Regions from separate parts of the Homo sapiens genome. Here region 1 is linked to region 2. Evidence: promoter capture Hi-C in 16 types of primary human blood cells and fetal thymus (Javierre and others, 2016). All regions are on one chromosome and are shown on one strand. The core of a region is centred on a gene start or on the middle of the fragment in contact, and the rest is flanking DNA. Distances in the headings are between cores, read along the strand shown. Region 1 has its middle 29 kb from the start of TNRC6B-DT. Region 2 holds the start of ADSL (adenylosuccinate lyase).

Region 1 (5,723 bases), core at 1,611-4,110, 270 kb after region 2:
AATAAAGAGATTTTTCAAGAACAAAAGCTGAGACAACTAATTGCCACCAGGTCTCTACTAGAAGAAATCTGTGGCCCACTGAATGACCATGGCTCACTGCAGCCTCAACCTCCCCAGGCTCAAGTGATCTATCTCAGCCTCCTGAGTAGCTGGAACTACAGATGTATGCTGCCATGTCTGCCTAATTTTTGTATTTTTTGTTGAGATGGGTTTTTGCCATGTTGCCCAAGCTGGTCTTGAACTTCTGGGCTCAAGCTATCCTCCTGCCTTGGCCTCCCAAAGTGCTGGGATTACAGGCGTGAGCCACCGTGCACAGCCTAGAAGAAATCTTTAGTACAAAAAACGGTGAAGCTTTTCAGGCTAAATAAAATAATACGGATGGGAACTCAGATCTAAACAAAAGAATAAAGGGCATTGGAAATGGCAAATATGTGGGTAAATGGAAAATACTTTTCTTTTTCAGGCTTTTTGTCATTAAAAGCAAAATTGGTAACAATGAATTGTGGGACATTTAACATGTCGAAGTAAAATGTATGACAATAGTCCAAAGATATAATGGGAAAATGAAAGTGCACTTTTTGAAGTTTTTACACTATAAATGAAGTGGCATATTATTTTAAGGCAGACTGCATAAGTTAAAGATGCATATTTTAAGCCATAAAGCAACTGTTATAAAAGTAAAACAAAGGTTTATAGCTAACAGAGGAGATGGAATAGTAAAAAAGTAATCAAAAAGAAGCCAGGAAAAGAGGAAAGAATAAACAGAAAACAGATGGGATAAATAGAAAACAAACAGCAAAATGATAAACTTAAACCCAACCATATTGAAAATGACATAAATGTAAGTGGTCTAAACACTTCAATTAAAAAACAAAGATGGTAAGATTGGACTTTAAAAATCCAACTATCTACTATCTAAAATAAATTCATTAAAAAAATAAAGACACGAATAAGTTAAAAGTAAAAGGAAACAAAAAGATATACAAATACATAAATAAGCTGGAGTGACCATATTAATATCACACAATATAGCCTTCAGGATAAGAAATATTACCAGGGATAAGGAAACGTTCTATAATTACAAAGGGCTAAATTCATTGAGAAGACATAAAAATCCTAAATGTGTATATACACATAGTTACAGAGGCTCAAGATGCATGAAGCAAAAATGAACAGAACTGAAAGGGGAAATAGACAAATCCACAATTATAGTTGGATATTTCAACACTTCTCAGAAACTACATTATATCAATGTAGAAAGAAAATCAGTAAGAAAAAAAAAAAAAAAAAAAAAAATATATATATATATATATATGAACAGAACCAACAATCAACTTGGCTAAATTGACATTAATAGCACACTACACCCAAGAATAGCAGAACATACATTTTTTTCAGGTACACATAGAACTATTCACAAAGAAGACCATACAAATCATGACAGATCTCAAAGGACTGAAATTGCATGTGTTTTATGGTAACAGTATTTTTCTTTGAGACAAGGTCTCGCTCTGTTGCCTACGCTGGAGTGCAGTGGTACAACCACGGCTCCCTGCAGCCTCCACCTTCCAGGCTCAAGCAATCCTCCCACCTAAGCCTCCCGAGTAGCTGGAAATACAGGCACACACCACCATGCCCAGCTAATTTTCTTTATTTTATTTTATTTTTTTTTTGGAGACGGAGTCTTGCTCTGTCACCCAGGCTGGAGTGCAGTGGCGTGATCTCGGCTCACTGCAAGCTCCACCTCCAGGGTTCACACCATTCTCCTGCCTCAGCCTCCCAGGTAGCTGGGACTATAGGCGCCCACCACCACGCCTGGCTAATTTTTTTGTATTTTTAGTAGAGACGGGGTTTTACCGTGTTAGCTAGGATGGTCTCGATCTCCTGACCTCATGATCCACCTGCCTTGGCCTCCCAAAGTGCAGGGATTACAGGCGTGAGCCACCGCGCCCAGCCATTTTCTTTATTTTTTATAGAGATAAAGTCTCATATGTTTCCCAGGCTGGTCTTGAATCCTGGACTCAAGCAATCCTCCTACCTCAGCCTCCCGAAAGTGCTGAGATTACAGTCATGAGCCACCATGCCTGGCCCACCATCTTGAAATGTACTAATTTCATACACTCTAAAGATAGTTTTTCCATATGTATACCTTTTATTTACTCTTAAATTATTAGCTTGAACTAGTTACCATTTTCTTTTCTTTTTTTTTTTTTTTTTGAGACAGAGCGACCTTCACTCTGTCACCGAGGCTGGAGAGCAGTGGTGTGATCTCAGCTCACTGCAGTCTCTGTCACACAGGTTCAAGCAATTCTCGTGCCTCAGCCTCCTGAGTAGCTGGGACTACAGGCACAGGCCATCACATCTGGCTTTTTTTTTTTTTTTTGAGATGGAGTTTCACTCTCATTGCCTAGGCTGGAGTGCAGTGGCACAATCTCCACTCACTACAACCTCCACCTCCCAGGTTCAAGCGATTCTCCTGCCTCAGCATCCAGAGTAGCTGGGACTACAGGCACACGCCACCATGCCCGACTAATTTTTTGTATTGTTTTTTGTTTTTAGTAGAGCTGGGGTTTCGCTATGTTGGCCAGGTTGGTCTCGAACTCCTGACATCAGGTGATCTGCCCACCTCGGCCTCCCAAAGTGCTGGGATTACAGGCATGAGCCACCGCACCCAGCCCTGGCTGCTAATTTTTGTATTTTTAGTAGAGATGAAGCTTCACCATGTTACCCAGACTGGTCTCGAACTCCTTGCCTTAAGAGATCCACCTGCCTCAGCCTCCCAACGTGCTGGAATTACAGCTGTGAGCCACTGTGCCTGCCCATATTAGTACCACTTAATGGTTTATTTCTACTAAGTTGATTTTATAGTTAAGTTTCCCTTCATTGACCAGTATTTTTTCCTTCAGTTAACAATTAGTGGCTCTTTGTAATGTCATAGTTCCCAGCACCCCCAAAACCCCAATAAAAGACACCACTAGATTCTTGTACTCTACCAGCCAAAGCTTGCCATAAGATCCTTAAAAATCTCTAATCCACCCCCAACAGTTTCCAGCCATATTAGAAAAGCTCCTGTTTAATGCAGAGTACTGAATCCTAAAAGGCTCCACAGGACTTGCTGTCCCTAAAGGAAGACAAAGAGTTCTTGACCTTCACTTAACAAAAAACGTGTTCTATATTACACTCTGCAAAAACAAGGACTCTGAGACTCTCAGCTAGGAAACAGGCACCCTGGAATCCCAATGACCATTTCTGCTGTCCCACATATATGGCTCTAAATATAAGGATTGGAAAAAAAAAAAAAAAAAAAAAAACCAAGGCCCTATGTATGTGTAGGGTGTGGGGCAGTAGGGGATAGGAGTCTGGGAGTGACTGCCTGTTAGGGACTTGACCAAACAACTTGAGACTGAATGTCCTTATGTAGAATACATGTCAGGCAATACTTATTACGTGTGCCCTCATTTGAAAGGAAATATCTTATAGCCTCATTATGACAAGCAAAAGTGATTTCTGATCTTTTGTTCTAGCTTATGTCCCAATGCTCTATACCTCCACTGTGAAGCCAGCTTTTTTTTTTTTTTTTTTTTTTTTTTTGAGAGAATCTCGCTCTGTTGCCCAGGCTGGAATGCAATGGCACAATCTTGGCTCACTGCAACCTCCGCCTCCCAGGTTCAAGTGATTCCCCTGCCTCCGCCTCCTGAGTATCTGGGATTTCAGGCACGTGCCACCATGCCCGGCTAATTTTTGTATTTTTAGTGGAGCTGGGGTTTCCCCATGTTGGCCAGGCTGGTCTCAAACTCCTGACCTCAGGTGATCTGCCCTCCTGGGCTTCCCAAAGTGCTGGGATTACAGGCCTCAGCCACCTTGCCAGGCCAAAGACAGTTCTTGACTAAGTTAGTGCTCAATAAAAGTTTGTTGAACTGAACAATAAAAGAATGTGGATTCCATATTAAGACAAAAGTTTACACTTTCCCAAAAAGGACATTCATGTTTAAATGCATCGTGATCTTCTTTATTATGGATTTAAGAACATAAATAATGTCAACAACATCCTTGGGAATAATTAGTAGGATGACATCTGCATCCCACTGCCCACATGCTTACCTTGAGAACAACTGACTTGGTGAATGAGCCAACACCCCGTTTCTTAAGTAAGCGCTCCGTTAGGGAAACCTCACTGTCAAATATATTATATGCTGTTTTTGACTCCTAAAAATTATTTTTCATTAAATAGATCAATAATTTATATTTCAATCTCTGTGTCTGAATAATACTCAGACACTTTCAATCTGTCACAATTAATATTCTTAAAAAATGTATCTTGTAATCCCAGTGCTTTGAGAGGCAGAGGTTGGATGATCGCTTGAGTCCAGGCATTCAAGACCAGTCTGGGAAACACAGTGAGACCCTGTCTCTACAAAAAGATTTTTAAAAATCAGTCAGGCGTAGTGATGTATGCCTGCAGTCTCAGCTTTCCAAAAGGCTGAGGTGGGAAGACTGAGCCTAGGTGTTTGAGGTTATAGTGAGCTATGATCGCGCCAATGTACTCCAGCATGGGCGATGGAGCAAGATCCGGTCTCGAAACAAACAAAAAGTATTTAATTAACAGTTCAAAACCATGCAATCTGAACAAATCGCTCTAGAAATAAAAGCTATAACTGCCAGTTAACACAGAAAAGGCCATCTCCATAATTTAACATACAATGAACACAAAATCAATCCAAGTGGGGTTATAATGCCTAATCAGAATTCCCCAAACTGTCCCCTGGAATGTCTGAGCTAAAGAAAAAAATTATTTTAAAAGGGTCCAAACCTTGTGGTCAGAAGCTGGAGGAGTGAGGGGCGCAGTAGGGCAAGAGAAAACTTCTGCTTTTCCTTTATACTTCTGTACCATTTGGAGTTTCATGTTATCATAAGTATATATTCCCTTATGGTAATACCAAAGTCCAAATGACACACAAGTATACGTTACTTTTTAAGCTTCCACATTCGCTGGTAATAGGAAAAGTCGGTCCAGAGAAAGCATGTTGCACCTTCTGAAACATTTCTATTTGAGATAGGATAGATATTACATGAGGTACTGTACATTTTAAATCTCTTTTACTTAGCATTTATTAACACGAGGTACCTCCGAAAGGAGAGAGGAGAAGAGGGGAACTATGAGATCCTTCATATAAAGCCAGCAAGGAGTAGGAAGTATCTAGTGGAGGTATCAGGGGACAGTGGCAACTGCCTAAGGTATTGAGCTTTGTGAAGAGGTGTCCTAATTTCTATTAACTGGCCTATAGAGAAAGAACAGATTTAATCTTACATCCTGTAGCAGAAAAAAAAAGGAAAGTGGGTTCCATTTTCAGAGAGTAACAAATGCTAGCAAACATTAGAGCTAAGAAAGTAAATAGTCTACAGTCCCTTACCCACAATTCCAAAATCCAAAAACTTCTGAAAACCAAAACTTTTCTGGAATTCATTGGTGGTGAAACCTGATGGGAATTTAATTGGTGGCAAGGTCTGACCTGAACTGACATGAAACTATTTATAGTCTACCCACTTTAGACTTTAGTCATAGCTTTGGCTGCTGAAATACTAATGTATTTGACTCTGAAGTGCTGCCTCTGACCCTGCAGGGGCATTGTATAACATATGGTAAGTGCATCTTATTAGTTTTCAAAAAAAAAAAAATCTGAGCTATAAAATACATCTGGCCCTTAAGAGTTTCTGATAAGGAA
Region 2 (6,231 bases), core at 308-2,807:
TGCATTTTAGGCCAACACAAAGAACACATACTCAGACTCTACATTCCAATTCCAGCTTGAAGCCATTTACTAGCTTTGGCGACCCTGGCAAAGTCTTGAGTACCACTACCCTCATCTACAGAATAGAATATCAGATGAAATAGAAAGAGTACACACTAGTACATCACAAACCACAACACATGATTAAGGTCTACTACTATCGCTATCTACGCCAAGAGTTTATTAAGTTGATGCTTCATTCTTCCATCTGTAAAACAGGTACAGTCATAGTATTTCATACCTACTCTTCAGGGTTGTTTGGAGGATTAATAAGCAACCATGTGTAAAGGGTTAAGACCTGGGTCTCAGAAGGCACTATCTGAATGTCTGCTATTATTGTAGTGTATCGCCCAATATTTTGGAGGGCAGTGATAAGGGGAGGGAGGGAATCTAGAATGAAAGTTTCCTGTTTGGAGAGTTCCATGGTACAGGTCCTAGGCCCGAAGTCAAATTGTTTCCATGTTTACTGTGCCGTTTGAGAGGGCATTGCCAACTTGCTCGTTGTGGCACTTTCCTCTGAAACTTGAGGAGAAACATTATCGCTCTCTGGATCACCTTCAGTTTGCTTCAACTCTTCTGGAGCTATTTCTGAAACCGCTGGGCTAAGAAGTTCTCTATGCAGCCCTTAGAAAAGAAATTATAAACCCCGTTTAATAAACCCCTACCCGGAGTCTTCTCCTAAGAGGCAAAGCGGAGGCCAGTGAGGCAGAAACGGTGGCCTAGAAAACAAGCATTCCAGTCCTGTCACTAACTACACAGGCACTGTGGAAAACCAAGGGGCTACGTGCTCAGCTCAGGCTCTGGAGTGCACCCAGGTTCAAATCCCAGTTCCGTTCTTAATAGCTGGATGGGCTAGGGCAAACAACAAGCTGTCCGGGCTTTGTTCTCCCCTGCAATGTGGGAAAAACACCATCAAGCCTGCAAGATCTTCATGGATTACACAAGAAAAGATTAGTGAAATAATGAGCACAACAGTACGAAACAAGCGCTCGGTGTCTGTGGTTAGCAGCGTACTCCTGCGGGGATGGCCAAAATGAATTCCCTGAAACTACAGGCTGAATTTCTCCCAGCCTCCTCCGCGTCTCGAACCCTCTCGGACTGAGAACACGTGAGGCAACAGGTGGCGGCTCCCGGATCTCCTGCCCTTGCTTTCCTGGGGCCGCAGCTCCTCAGGACAGGGAACACCCAGCTGAAAATAGCCGGGCCGCAGCTCCGGGGTGGCTAAGCCCAGCCCGGAACAGAGCCCGGCACGTGCTGGGGCGGGCCCGTCCCTCCCGGCCCAGCCCCTCAGCCCGGGATCCGTTACCTGCTCGGCCTCCGCCAGCCACAGCCACAGCTGCCGCCATGTCCGGAATTTATACCTGTCGCTAAACACGAAGCACATCTCCGGGCTGGCATAGCGGGAGGCAAGAGGTGAGCGGTAGCTGTCGGGCGAACCATGATCGCCTCCAGCCGCCATCCCAACCCTGCGACCCCGCCAGGGTGGACTGGACCAGGGAAGAGCGGAAGCGGAAACCTGGAGGCCAGGGCAGGACGGGGCGGGGCGGGACTTCCTTCACGCGGTCTCGCTCTCTGGGTTCCGGGCGCCCTGGGCGCTGCCGGCTGCGGAGAATCTCCGCTGCTTCTGCCTGAGAATTGACTTGGTTCGCTTCTTTGACCAGAAACATGATTGATGCTTCCTACGTTACTTAGCCGCGCTACACTTTAGTTTTCCTGTCTGAAAAGAGGTACATTAAGACTTCCTTGGCCGGGCGCGGTGGCTCACGCTTGTAATCCCAGCACTGTGGGGGCCCCAGACCGGAGGATCGCTTGAGGCCGACAGATCGAGACCAGCCTGGGCAACACAGGGAGACCCTCCCGTCTCTAAAAAACAAAAAGCAAAAAAAAAAAAAAAAAAAAAGGCCTGCCTTTCGGGTTGTGCGGATTCAGTGTTAGAGCGGTGTCTGGCACACTTGGAAGGCCGTGTGTACGCTTGCTGTTACTCTTATTACTGTCGCCCCACCCACTCCTGCCCGCGGCGCACCGAGCTCGGCTCTAAGGAGAAATGAAGATACCCAAGGGAAATCGGCATTTACTGCGCCCCCAGTGAGCCGGCTGCGGTGGCCTACGCCTGTAATCCCAGCACTTCGGGAGGTCGAGGCAGGCAGATTTCCTGAGCTTAGGAGTTTGAGACCAGCCTGGGCAACACGTGAAACCCTGTCTCTACTAAAATACAAAAAATTAGTCGGGCATGGCGGCCTGTACCTGTAGTCTCAGCTACTTGTGAGGCTGAGACAGGAGAATTTCTTGAACCCGGAAGGCGGAGGTTGCAGTGAGCCAAGATCGCGCCACTGCACTCCAGCCTGGGCGACAGAGCGAGACTCCGTCTCCAAAAAATAAAAGAATTAAATAAATAAATAGAAATAGAAACACTCAAGTGGCCCCCCCCCTTTTTTTTTTTTTTGACAGGGTCTTGCTATGTTGTTCAGTCTGGAGTGCCAGTGGGGTGATCACACAGGAAAGGGTTCATCTGGAGCTGTAAGAGCCAGGTGTCTCAGCTGGGCACGGTGACTCACGCCTATAATCTCAGCACTTTGGAGGCTGAGCTGGGCAGATCGCTTGAGTCCAGGAGTTGGAGACCAGCCTGAGCAACATGATGAAACACTGTCTCTACAAAAAATACAAAAATTAACTGGGTATGGTGGTGTGCACCTGTAGTCCCAGCTACTTGGGAGGCTGAGGTGGGAGAATCACTTGAGCCCAGGATGTTGAGGCTGCAGTAAGCCATGATTTTGCCACTACAGCTTAGGCAACAGTGAGACCCTGTCTCAAAAACAAAACAAACGAAAAGAGCCGGGTGCCTGCACCCTCTCCACCTGCACTTAACTCCTAGCTCTCTGCCTTTTACGTGAGGAATCTAAAGACACTCAAGCCAGGTGTGGTGGCTCACGCCTGTAATCCCAACACTTTGAGAGGCCGAGGCGGGAAGATCGCTTGAGCCCAGTACTATGCTGCTTTGAAATTACTTGTTTCTGAGTGCCTTACTAAAATGAGACCTGTGGAGGAATTCCAATTTTAACTCCCAGTTTATTTGCTGAGAGTTAACTTCACTTTTCCAATAACCATAATATTTCTAGACTATTACAAGTACATGATTAAGGGCCAGGCACGGTGGCTCACACCTGTAATCCCAGCATTTTGGGACGCTGAGGCAGGTGGATCACCTGAGGTCAGGAGTTGGAGACCAGCCTGGCCAACATGGTGAAACCCCATCTCTACTCAAAATACAAAAATTAGCCAGGTCGTGGTGGCAGGTGTCTGTAATCTCAGCTACTTAGGAGGCTGAGGCAGGAGAATCACTTGAACCCAGGAGGTGGAGGTTGCAGTGAGCCGAGATCGTGCCACTGCACTCCAGCCTGGGCAACAAAGTGTGACTCCAACTCAAGAAAAAAAAAAAAAAAGTACATGATTAGATCTCAAGGCTTCAAGATCTTTTCTTTGACAATAACTTCTTTTCCAGTCACCTTCCCATTCCTGCTTTCATTCACAGATTCACTCAAAAACCTATGGAGCACCCATGACAGTGTTCTCCCTCCACACCTCTGGGCTTTCTTAGATGCTGAGTGACCTCCCGGCTTCTTTTTTTTTTTTTTTTTTTTTTTTTTTTGAGACAGAGTCTCGCTCTGTCGCCCAGCCTGGAGTTCAGTGACATGATCTCGGCTCACTGCAAGCTCCCCGTCCCGGGTTCACGCCATTCTCCTGCCTCAGCCTCCCTAGTAGCTGGGACTGCAGGCGCCCACCACCACACCCGGCTAATTTTCTGTATTTTTTTTAGTAGAGATGGGGTTTCACCGTGTTGGCCAGGATGGTCTCGACCTTCTGATCTGCCCTTCTCGGCCTCCCTAAGTGCTGGGATTACAGGCATGAGCCACCGTGCCCGGCCTCTTTTTCTTTTATTTATTTATTTATTTTTTTTTAAGACAGAGTTTCACTCTTGTTGACCAGGCTGGAGTGCAATGGTGTGATCTCTGTTCACCGCAACCTCCACCTCCCGGGTTCAAGCGATTCTCCCTCCTCAGCCTCCTGAGTAGCTGGGATTACAGGCATGCGCCACCACACCTGGCTAATTTTGTTTTTTCGTTGTTTTTTTTTTTTTTTTTTTTTTAGAGACGGGGTTTCTCCATGTTGGTCAGGCTGGTCTTGAACTCCTGACCTCAGGTGATCCACCCACCTTGGCCTCCCAAAGTGCTGGGATTTCAGGCGTGAGCCACCACGCCCGGCTGGATGCTGAGACCTCCTGGCATCTCTTTCAAAACTCTTACCAGAATTCAGTGTTGCTTGCCTTGCTCATTGATGGCAAACTCAGTGGGGCAAGAGATCATGTCTGTGTTCCTGGCACTGAGCCCCAAACCTGGCATAGCATAGGTGCTCAGTAAATGTTTGCTGGATGCATAAATGCTGCCCCAAAGGAGCCTAGCCCAGTAAGAGAAATAACGCCCACAATAGCCATGATACAAGTTAGATTCTGCCACTATACTTCCTCTTCCTCCACACTTCCTCGGTGTCCTCATTCCCTGGCTTGTTCATGCCTCCACCTGAACTCCAGAGTTAGCTGTCAGAATTGACTAGAGTGCCAATTTCAGAATATTCAGGCCATCAGAGAAGCCTGTCAGTCACCTGGGCTCGTCACTGAAGTCTTCTTCCACCTCCCCTCTTGAACTGCAGAGGACTGGTTTTGGGGGTGAGGGCAGTCACAGTTCTGGAAAGATGAAGAATTTGCTCCATCAAACTCCCCACTCTTTGCAGAGTGCTTCCTGGCACTCATTGCTTTGATACACTGTGATAAATTTACTTTTCTCATTTTCTACCCATGCCTCTTGTAAAAGGTGGAAAGATTTATATAATCTGAAGAGAAACCAGAGCACGTACCCATGCCCATTGTAAACTCAGTGATCTCCTCAGTCTTCTAGGCCTCTGTTCTTCCTCTGCTTCACTTTGCTGTTACTTTTCCTCCTCCAAACAAGTTTCTACCTGAGTCTTCTTCCTCATTCAGGAAAAGATCTTGCTTGATCATTTTGTCTTATATCTTTCATCACCCCAGTTCTGTTTCCCTTCTCCTCTGATTTTTTATTTTTCAAGACCTTGTCTCAGGCTGTTTAGTTTTTTAGAAATGGGGTCTGTCACCCAGGCTAGAAGACAGTGGCATGATCATAGCTCACTGCTGCCTTGAACTTCTGTCCACAAGCAATCCTCCCACTTCAGCTTCCCGAGTAGCTAGGACTACAGGCACGTGCCATCGCCTTCGTCTACTTTTGTTTACTTATTAACTTAGAGACGGGGTCTTGTTATGTTGCCCAGTTGGTCTCAAACTTCTGGCCTCAAGTGATCTTCCCACCTCAGCCTCCCGAACGGATGGGATTACAGACATGAGCCACTGCAGTCAGCTCCTCTGAGGGTTTTGTTTTTAAATGCCTAGGTCTCTTCCACTATAGGAACGTCTTCACTTGCCGTGGTAACTCCTTAACATGGAGTCCTCATTTTCTGTCTGCCTTTTCACCGACCATTCCTGGCGCTACCACTTATTAGCTGTGTTACTTGGGGAAGTTACTTATCTTTCAGCACATAAGTCTTCCCACCTATAAAATGTGACTGATGATCCCAGGTGTTAGGTGCAAGAGCAAAAATAGATGCTGGCTCCCTAGCTCACTGTCTGGGACTCCTGTGCTCAACAAATCGTTCCCCTCCCCACTTTATTCTTTAGCACTGAGGTGCAACTTCTGCTCTCTCCCCTTCTTCCAAATCAAACTATTATTAATTACCAATAACCTTCTCTAACAGACCAATCAAAATGTCCTTTTCCATAATATGTACTTGTTTGCCTCATTAAAGGTGTGGGGTATCATGCAGGGAATGGAATAGACAAGGACAGTACTGGTAGCAAAATTTCCCAATGTACATCTTTATGTCATTTTGACTTTTGAATCAAATAGGTTTTTTTTTTTTTTTCTCATTCGTCCCTCCTGGCTGATTTAAGTATTTAGCATTTTTGACAATTTCCTTCCTGTCTGCTTTGAAAACTAAACTGTACTGATTTTACCCCGACTGCTCTTGGTCGTTTTTTTTGTTTTGTTTTGTTTTGAGACAGGGTCTTGCTGTGTTGCTCAGGCTGGAGTGCAGTGCCATGATCACGGCTCACTGCATCCTCAACCTCCT

Evidence for each region. Contacts are between HindIII fragments. The CHiCAGO score rates a contact against its expected background, and 5 or more counts as called.
Region 1: a fragment that was not itself captured here is called in contact with the fragment with the promoter of ADSL in region 2 in 1 of 17 cell types (activated CD4 T cells); the score reaches 5.4 in activated CD4 T cells.

What each region holds. Positions count from the first base shown.
Region 1 is chr22:40,070,730-40,076,452 of GRCh38, reverse strand. It overlaps a transcript of TNRC6B not described here. Among named protein-coding and RNA genes, the nearest start is that of TNRC6B-DT, 29 kb to the right of the region's middle. The HindIII fragment of the contact is 288 bases long and covers 2,717-3,004 here.
Region 2 is chr22:40,341,826-40,348,056 of GRCh38, reverse strand. ADSL (adenylosuccinate lyase) reads right to left here and starts at 1,557. Exons shown (of 13, transcript NM_000026.4): 1 at 1,346-1,557. The coding sequence starts at 1,498. RefSeq lists enhancers at 502-1,014, 1,015-1,528, 1,529-2,042 and silencers at 1,215-1,304, 3,685-3,857. The HindIII fragment of the contact is 11,540 bases long and covers 1-6,231 here.